3 separate regions of the Homo sapiens genome follow, and regions 1 and 2 are each linked to region 3. The links are contacts of gene promoters, found by promoter capture Hi-C in blood cells and fetal thymus (Javierre and others, 2016). All regions are on one chromosome and are shown on one strand. The core of a region is centred on a gene start or on the middle of the fragment in contact, and the rest is flanking DNA. Distances in the headings are between cores, read along the strand shown.

Evidence for each region. The method cuts DNA at HindIII sites, captures the fragments that hold promoters and counts their contacts. A CHiCAGO score of 5 or more calls a contact.
Region 1: a contact is called between a fragment that was not itself captured here and the fragment with the promoter of DST in region 3, in 12 of 17 cell types (megakaryocytes, erythroblasts, total CD4 T cells and 9 more). The highest score is 9.9, in megakaryocytes.
Region 2: a fragment that was not itself captured here is called in contact with the fragment with the promoter of DST in region 3 in 7 of 17 cell types (erythroblasts, megakaryocytes, endothelial precursors and 4 more); the score reaches 7.6 in erythroblasts.

Annotation. Positions count from the first base shown.
Region 1 is chr6:57,245,360-57,248,165 of GRCh38, forward strand. It overlaps a transcript of PRIM2 not described here. Among named protein-coding and RNA genes, the nearest start is that of LINC03001, 17 kb to the right of the region's middle. The HindIII fragment of the contact is 1,298 bases long and covers 772-2,069 here.
Region 2 is chr6:57,225,719-57,228,502 of GRCh38, forward strand. It overlaps a transcript of PRIM2 not described here. Among named protein-coding and RNA genes, the nearest start is that of RAB23, 4.8 kb to the left of the region's middle. The HindIII fragment of the contact is 2,474 bases long and covers 53-2,526 here.
Region 3 is chr6:56,953,489-56,956,188 of GRCh38, forward strand. DST (dystonin) reads right to left here and starts at 1,342. Exons shown (of 104, transcript NM_001374736.1): 1 at 919-1,342; 2 at 297-331. The coding sequence starts at 1,099. It overlaps BEND6 (BEN domain containing 6), which reads left to right and starts at 1,619. Exons shown (of 7, transcript NM_152731.3): 1 at 1,619-1,972. RefSeq lists an enhancer at 325-956 and a silencer at 1,118-1,807. The HindIII fragment of the contact is 5,182 bases long and covers 1-2,700 here.

The DNA of each region.
Region 1 (2,806 bases), core at 171-2,670, 290 kb after region 3:
CTCATACACCCATGATGCATCACCTGCCTACCTCTTACATGCTTTATGGGTTAGTTATATTTGCCATCACTGGAGGTGCCAGTAAACTCGCAAGGTAGCCTTTGTGTGAGGTTTGGTAACCAAATTGCCAAGTTAGCTCAGGGAACTGCAACTCATGTCCACCTTTCATCCACTTAGGCCTTGCTGTCTTCCCTCTTTCAGGTTTCAGTTTTGTAGATTTTGAGCCTAGATTCTCTTTCTCCATCTCTTAGAGCACAACCTAAGATAGCATTTTGATAGTCTAAGCTCCTGGTCTGGTGTAACTGCTTCCACTCAGAAATACTTCCTCTTCTCTGGAAAGGAAGGGATCAAACAATAGCTCAGTAAGAACATAATTATCAGATCAGGAGTGCCTGCAGATGTAAAGGTTCTGATGCCAGAATATGGAGGTGGAGGGAGTGGTCTTGGGATAGTGCAGGGGATGGGGTTTGGGGCATGAGAGTGCACTTGGATTACCTGATTATAAATGGCAGCACAATGAATTTTTAATATAAAGTTACAGCTTTAAAATTATTGAGAAAGATTAGTTGATTGGTGTCACTCTAGTCATAGAAAACATACAAATCTAATTCTGATTTTGTGCCAACAGACTATTATTTTTGTGCTTGCACACTTATTGTATCACATGCATCTCTATCCATCCATTTATCCACATATCTACAAATCATATATCTCAACACTGTAAAAAACTCCAGTTCCTTATAAATTACTATTTTATTTTCTCTTATTCTAAGCTTCCTTCCTGTAACTTATTTAATTGTTAACAAAATGTGTTATAGAAACCTGTGTTACTTGTTCTGCAGCCCATTTACGGGGGAGAAGATATTATGTTTCCTTGGTCTATGTTTCAAAGGTATCAACTCTCTTTGTTCCTGTATAACTACTTACATTTGAAGTGAAAAACTCCCAGAGGCCAACAGAAAATGGCTATGAAACTAGAAAGAATACTATTCTACCTACGCTAGTATATAAGTTTCCTAAGATGTTAGTGAAATACAGCTGGAGAAGTGCTTCAGTTTGGCTCAGTTTTGTTTTGGCCCAACTCTTACCAATAGCTCCTCTCCAATCTCCAGGAGATACGCCGTCCTATCGGTGATGGGGGAGGAGCAGGAGTGAAAGACAGGATGGTGTTGCAACAATTCAAAACCCCAGAGCGCACAGTTACCCCCAATGCACTAATCAGGGTGTAGGTACTATAACTTACTAAGCCTGTTTAATAAATCCATGCCTGTACTCAGGTGAATGGGGAATGGTGAGAGAAGAGAGAACACTGTGATAACCAACCAGCTCGAACAGGGAGGGGCAGCCAGCCCACCGTTGCAAGGAGAGCTGGGCAGATGTCTATCAAGATAACCATTTCTGCTGCCTGCTGATTCTCTCACCTGCCAGTTTCTGCATCTGCCCATAGAGTACTCATGTGCTCCTTCCTGTACCAGATGATCTCCCTGGACTTAATTTCTTTTTTTTTTTTTTTGAGACGGAGTCTCACTCTGTCGCCCAGGCTAGAGTGCGGTGGCGCGATCTCAGCTCACTGCAAGCTCCGCCTCCTGGGTTCACGCTATTCTCCTGCCTCAGCCTCCCGAGTAGCTGGGACTACAGGTACCCACCACCATGCCCGGCTAATTTTTTGTATTTTTAGTAGAGACGGGGTTTCACCGTGTTAGCCAGGATGGTCTTGATCTCCTGACCTCGTGATCCGCCCGCCTTGGCCTTCCAAAGTGCTAGGATTACAGGCGTGAGCCACACCGCGCCCGGCCTGGACTTGATTTCTTGATTGCCTGCACCTAGAGTATCCATCGTCTTTCCTACGTGGCTGGGCAACTAGGTTTATCCCTTTCAGGCTAGCCCTCCTTCATTGCCATAACATCTAGGGGTGACATTGACTGAGTTGTATATGATTATTCATCATTTCTCGGGCCTAGATAGATTGTGATGAGTTTTAGGGCTTGTCAAATTTCAAGGCTCTGTTTTTATACCACACATAATTTTGGGAATTTGTAAAGTGCTTAATAATTATCCATCAATGAGTAAGCTTTGAAGGAAGATTAAAAAGTATTATGAAATAAATTACAGAGTTATAGTTGAGGCTTATTCAGAGCAAAATTATTTTTGGTGTATTTTGAGCACTAGGTAAATGTCAAAGGCACCCATGAGAAATAGCAAAAACTGCTGTAATAGTATAAATTCTCATTTATAGCTGCTGCAGAAGAGATGCAAATGTTCTCTATGTGGTTGCTCTGTGTGAGGAGGTGTTTCATGGGACTATCAAAATCCTATCTTAGGTTGTCATTTTGGACACTAAAAATTTTCAAGTAATAATTTAAAGAATCTTGAGGTTTCCTTTTGATATGGCCTAGAAACCTTTGGCAACTAATTTCTGTATGACTCAAAGGATTTCCCCTAGAAGGGAATCCTACTATTTGGGCTTTTAAAAATAAACTGTCATTCTGGATACATTTGTAGCCCTGACTAGTGGGTGAGCATGAGTTTCATTCTGAAATCCAGAAAGAATAATGAGACTAAAAAAAATCAAGACACTGAGTACAGTATATTAGTTAATATAGCATATAATTCAATGTTTGCTTTAGAATTTTGAATTTAGCCAAAAAATAATTGGATCAGGTACTAATGATCAAAATGAGATCACGTGAGGAATTAAGGAGTGTACATAAGATCTTGGATTACATGTTACATAGTCATGTGGCGTAACCAAATGTATCCAAGTGTATTTACATGTGACTTTGAATTATAATGGCAGAGAGTTGGT
Region 2 (2,784 bases), core at 40-2,539, 270 kb after region 3:
TGAGTAGAAAGAAAAACAGAAAAATCAGAAAATATTTTCTTCCAAGAAAGAAAGCTTTGAAAATTTTACCACTTAGAATATAAGTCTGCATATACATATGAATGCATATGTGGCCATCTGGAAAAAACTAGTAGAAATCACAGTATTTGGCTAGACAATAATAATCTACTGTTCTTCAGATTCAAACAGATCATGCTGGAAAAAAAATTTTTTCTAGTACTTTCTAGGCAGACATTAGAGTACTGATTCAGTTTTTCTGTTGCTTAATAACCTTGGATCTTAGTATCCTCATCTATAGTAAGGAGTTACCCACCTTACAAGGTCATTTATCCATTAAAAAAAATACATATTGTGCCAAGGACTGTGCTGAACATTGGGTATTCAGTAATAGACAAAAGGCAGATGGTTTGTGTCCTCTGGGAGCTTATAATGTGTTAAGGGAGACCAAAAAAGAAAGTATACAAATACACACATATGCACACATATACACAAATAAGTGATTACATACCCTTAGACATTATGTGAAAGTAAATAACTGGTATGATGGAAGCATGTAAGAGGGAGCCCTAATTTATGTTGGAGAACCAAGGGAAGGCCTTTCTGATACAGTGATTTTTAAGCTGTTATCTGAAAGATAAATGAGTTTGGTGAAGAATAGACAGAAAAAGCCTTTAAGCAGAGACAGCAGGAAGTACGATGGCCTGAGGCAGCAAACAATTCACTGGGTTTGAATAATTGAAAGGGAGCCAGTGTGCAGGAGTGAGGTGGAAAGCGGTATGTAAAAAATAAAGAACAGTGGTGAGGGAAGCAGGGGCCAGATCATGAAGACCTTGCAGGTCATATTAGGTAATTTGGATTATATCTCAAGTATATTGGGAAGCCATTGGAGGATTTTTTAGTGCACAGACTAGGAGATCCACTGGACAGTTTTAAAAAATTCCTCTGACTGCTATCTAGGGAAAACATAGAGTAGTGGAAAATGGGAGAGCAATGGAAGGCCGGTTCAGGCAAGAGATGATGGAGGGTTAGACTGAGATGGTTACAGGGGTGATACAGAAAAGTGCATTTGTTTTTAATCTTGGAAGTAGAACCTATAGGATTTGGCTATGGTGTAGGAAAAAGACGGAATGTAAAGAGTGACTTGCAGGTTTCTTGAATGACTGCCTTGCTGAGATTGGTCACTAAGGGACTAGTTATAACCCCTCACAGTGTGAGTCGGGGAATAATCTGTTCATTCTAAATTCCTTTTTGTTTTGTCCTTGATTGTTCTTGTATTATGGTCTAGTGTGTTCCAGCATATACACTTCTAGATTTAGGGCCCTTACTAACAAAGAATAATTAGAAAATAAAAATCTTTTTTTTTTCTTTACTGCCCAAGTCTTTCTCATATATATATTTACTTTTGTTGAAATACTCTTAGTATACTGAGAGACCTCCTCTCTAATGGAAAGGGCTGGACTAGACAACTCTCTGACTTTTGAGAACTTCGCTCATGGTAAATAAGGAAACGTCTGTGTGATATTCTTCCTCACACTTCTGTTGGAACATTTGTTCACCTCGCTTCAGTGATCTGATGCATTTTCAAGAGCTTATTCACAATCAAGTTTTTGTCATCCATTCCATAATTTAAATTCTTCTCAGTAGGCTGGGCACAGTGGCTCACGCCTGTAATCCCAGCACTTTGGGAGGCCAAGGCAGGAGGATCACCTGAGGTCAGGAGTTCAAGACCAGCCTGGCCAACATGGTGAAACCCCATCTCTACTAAAAATACAAAAATTAGCTGGGCGTTGTGGCGCACGCCTGTAATCTCAGCTACTCAGGAGGCTGAGACATGAGAATTGCTTGAACCCGGGAGATGGAGGTTGCAGTGAGCCAAGATCATGCCACTGAACTCCAGCCTCAGCCACAGGGTGAGACCATCTCAAAAAAAAAAAAAAAAAAAAAGAATAAATAAATTCTTTTCTCAGTGCTCTCATAAAATAAGTAGAAGGACTATTTGATTAACCTTATTTGTACATATAAATAAAGTAGGTAAAGGTCACATACCCTACAGGTAGTTTTGATACAAGAATCCAATTCTCTTAATGGGCAGTTATGAATTCAAACTCATCCACTTGCCCATTCCCTGGATTTACAATTATTAAGTCACAAAAAAGTGGTGAGGAAATGTTCTACTTGTGCTAATACTTGTGCATCAAATACTTGATGCTCATGACAGAATATTTTTACCTCTTAAATATAATCTTTTCAACATTAATCAGTAATTGAGGTTTTGTGCTTAAAGTTATTTTGCAACCAGGACTAATTCTTAATTTTTTAACCACTTCTACTCAACAAATATATAAAACACTTTAAATATTGATGCATCTCCTGGTTTTTGGTTTTTATTTCTTGATATCTTATAGAAGATCTACAAAACTAGAGTTAGAAGCCAGAAAGAAGCCTCAGATGGTGATAAATAAAAATGTTCTGTCTTAATGCTGATTTTTTCAGTAATGAAGTGGTATAAACTCATTACTTTCATGAAGCTTCCTAGGTCATGAAAATAACATTGTTGTAGAGCTTCCATGTGCATCAGGTATGACTGAATAGTTTGATGCACTTGCAAATCACAAAGTGCCTTCCTTTGAAATGTGTAAGGCAGGTTGAGATGCAGCTTCTCAGATGGATTTAGTCCCTCCTAGGACTAGATGTCTCCTTGTTGCAGCTGAATTCTCATTTCATTTACCCATAACTAGAAACACCTCATGAACACCTATTTTAAACATTGAGTTGCCATCAACC
Region 3 (2,700 bases), core at 92-2,591:
TAAACTGTAAACTCAAGTGACATCCACCCTGTGGCTAAGTTTTTTAAGGTCTGCAGCACTTTTAGGGTTTGCCTTTTCCCCTCTTGTACAACAGCTCCACTACACAAGAAATTTGCTAAAACCGTTCGCTGGGCACTAATATGAAATCACTTAAAAGGAAACATGCCACTTTCGGCTAGGGGACAGCATGTTCGTCATTCAGTGTCCTACTGGTTTCTTAACACGCATATAATTAATATTGGTACTCAGGAAAGAGAACTTCTTCTGACCTTGAGCGTGCGCGCTAAATAAATTACCTCAGAACGAAAGTGGTGCGATCTCAAAACAGCATCTGGGGAGAAAAGAGATAAATGAGACTTCATTTAACTCCTTGTTCTTCACCTACCGAGTGACTCATGACTTACCTGGGAGACCAGGGTTGGGAAAGCACATCGCAGACTCCTGGAATTCGGTGGGACATCCTGGGGGAGGGAGGAGGAGTCCTGGGGCCATCGGTCTCTACGTGATTTCTCCGCGAGAAGTTTGCATGAAAGTTCTGGGGGAGTTGGGGAGCCCCGAAGTTTCCATGCCTTACTTTCTTACCCCTACGCTCCAGCGAAGGATGCGTGAAGGCGAGGCTGGCGCAGCCCCGGACTACGCTCAAATTACCCTTAAGGCTTTAGCAAACTGACTAAAAATTTGAGTTCTTTCCTCCCCTCCCTGCCCTCGGCATCGCCGTGGTTATTCAAACCTGGGAGACTGGAGGGCGGAGGTGACGGCAAAAAGGGCAAGGGGCGTTAAAGAAACGCACTCAGCCTGGGGAGTGGGCAATGATGGGGCTAGGGGCAGCCGAGGAGAAGGGAGCGAGCCGCGCTTCACTCTCCAAATCGGCTTAATTGTTCCTGGTAGCCCGCAGAAACCCGTCGCGGCGTGTCTTACCTCGGCTTCTTGAACGACCCGAGAAGACCGATTTCATCGGATGCCTCCCTTTCTGGAGCTTGCGGTGCCAGCAGCAGAAGAAGACGATGGTGGCGATGGTGCCCAGCAGAAGCAACAAGAGGAAGAGGGCACATTGGATGCTGTAGGGTCTCAGCAAGACGAGGAAAGCCGCGGCGATCATGGTGCGGGCGAGGCGAGGGCGACTCGACGGCGGGGCTGGAGGGCGGCGGCACAGGCACCCGCGCTGGGCGCACGCCGGGACGGCGGGCACGGGTGAGCGCGGCTCAGCGCGTCATGCCTGGCGCTCGCGGCCCCGCGCCCAGCCCAATGGCTGCGCACCCCGCGCCAGCCGCGCTACGCGAGTGATCCAGGGCTGCGGGGAGCGCTTGCCATGACTCAGCAGACAGCGACGAGGCTGCGACTCGGCGGCTGGGATCCTCTCCCCTCCCTCCCCAGGCGCCCCCGCCCCCGTCCGTGCGCAGCCCCCGGGCGCAGCCCCGCCGGGGACGCGGCGAGTGGGGAGGAGCAGCGCCGCCGCCGCGGCCGCCCGGGCCCCGCGCATCGTCCTGCGGCCGCCGCCGACCTCAGCATCCCAGAAGCCGGGCGCACGTGGGTCGGGGCGGGGACGCGGCGCTCAGGCTGCAGCCGCGGCAGCCTGCGGGGGGCGGGAATGGGGCGCCGCGGCGGGGGCTCGGCTGATGACATCACGGCCAGGCTGCGGCAGCGCGGGCGCGCGGACATGGCTGCGGCGGTTTCGGCGGCGTCCGCGGGCTGCACCCGGGCCTGAGAGCCCAGCGCCCTCCCGCGGGGCCGCCCGCCAGTCCGCGCCGTCCGCGGGTGCATTGGCCGGGTGCCTCTAGCTTCCCGGACACCCGGAGCTTCCGCCTATCCAGCCTCCCTCGGCCAAATTGCTGCGGAGCCCGTCGTCAGGGGGCGCCAAGGAGCCAGGGGGAAAACCGAGAGGCGCTGACAGGAGCCTCCCGGCGGTGCTACCCTCCACCTCCCACCTCCCTGCGCCCCGCCCCGAGGTTGGGGCTTTGAAGAATGCAGCCGGGTGAGCTATTGCTTGTGGGGGTTTCCTCGCACTCTGAAGCGCGAGCGCCGGGAAGGGCCTTCCCTGGGAATTGGGATACTCCAGGAACGGGAGGCCCACTCCTCTCCAAGCCTCTCTAAACTAGGAGCGCTCCGGGGTAGTACGCTCTGGTCGGCAGAGGTGAACTCTTCCACCCCAAACTTGGTGCTTATCTCGCAGCTAAGAATTGGGCACTTTCGATCTTCTTGTATCCCTGGGTTTGCCCTAAAACCCTGACTCATTTAGTGCATTTGAAGGGCAAGGCGATTTCAGATTTAGGGACCTGGCAGATGAAGTAAGTTGGTACTTGGCTTATAAACATTTGGGGGAGAAATTTTTTAGGGAGTGTGAGGCAATAGTGATCTCTCACACTTGCAGGCACACTCTGTCTCCCCTTTGTCCCCTCCCCACGTTTCTTCATAACCAGCAAAAAGTATATGGCAGTTGGTGGCCAGGGGATTTAACACTGATGCAATGCCAGCACGGAAGGTATAGCGAGAGCGCTGCAGTGTGCCTTTCTGCGGACGGCCACGGCCACCTGGCCAGGAAGCGGCTGCTGCAGCAGTCATTCTGCGGCATCTTGCGGCCTTGGCGGGCGGTGCTGTGCCGCGTTCTGCTGCCCCCAAGGCAATGCTGGCTTTCCCTGTGTGGGGCTGGATTGTTTGTTTCATTTACTCGCATAAGAAAACTTTAATTATAGTGACAAGGTA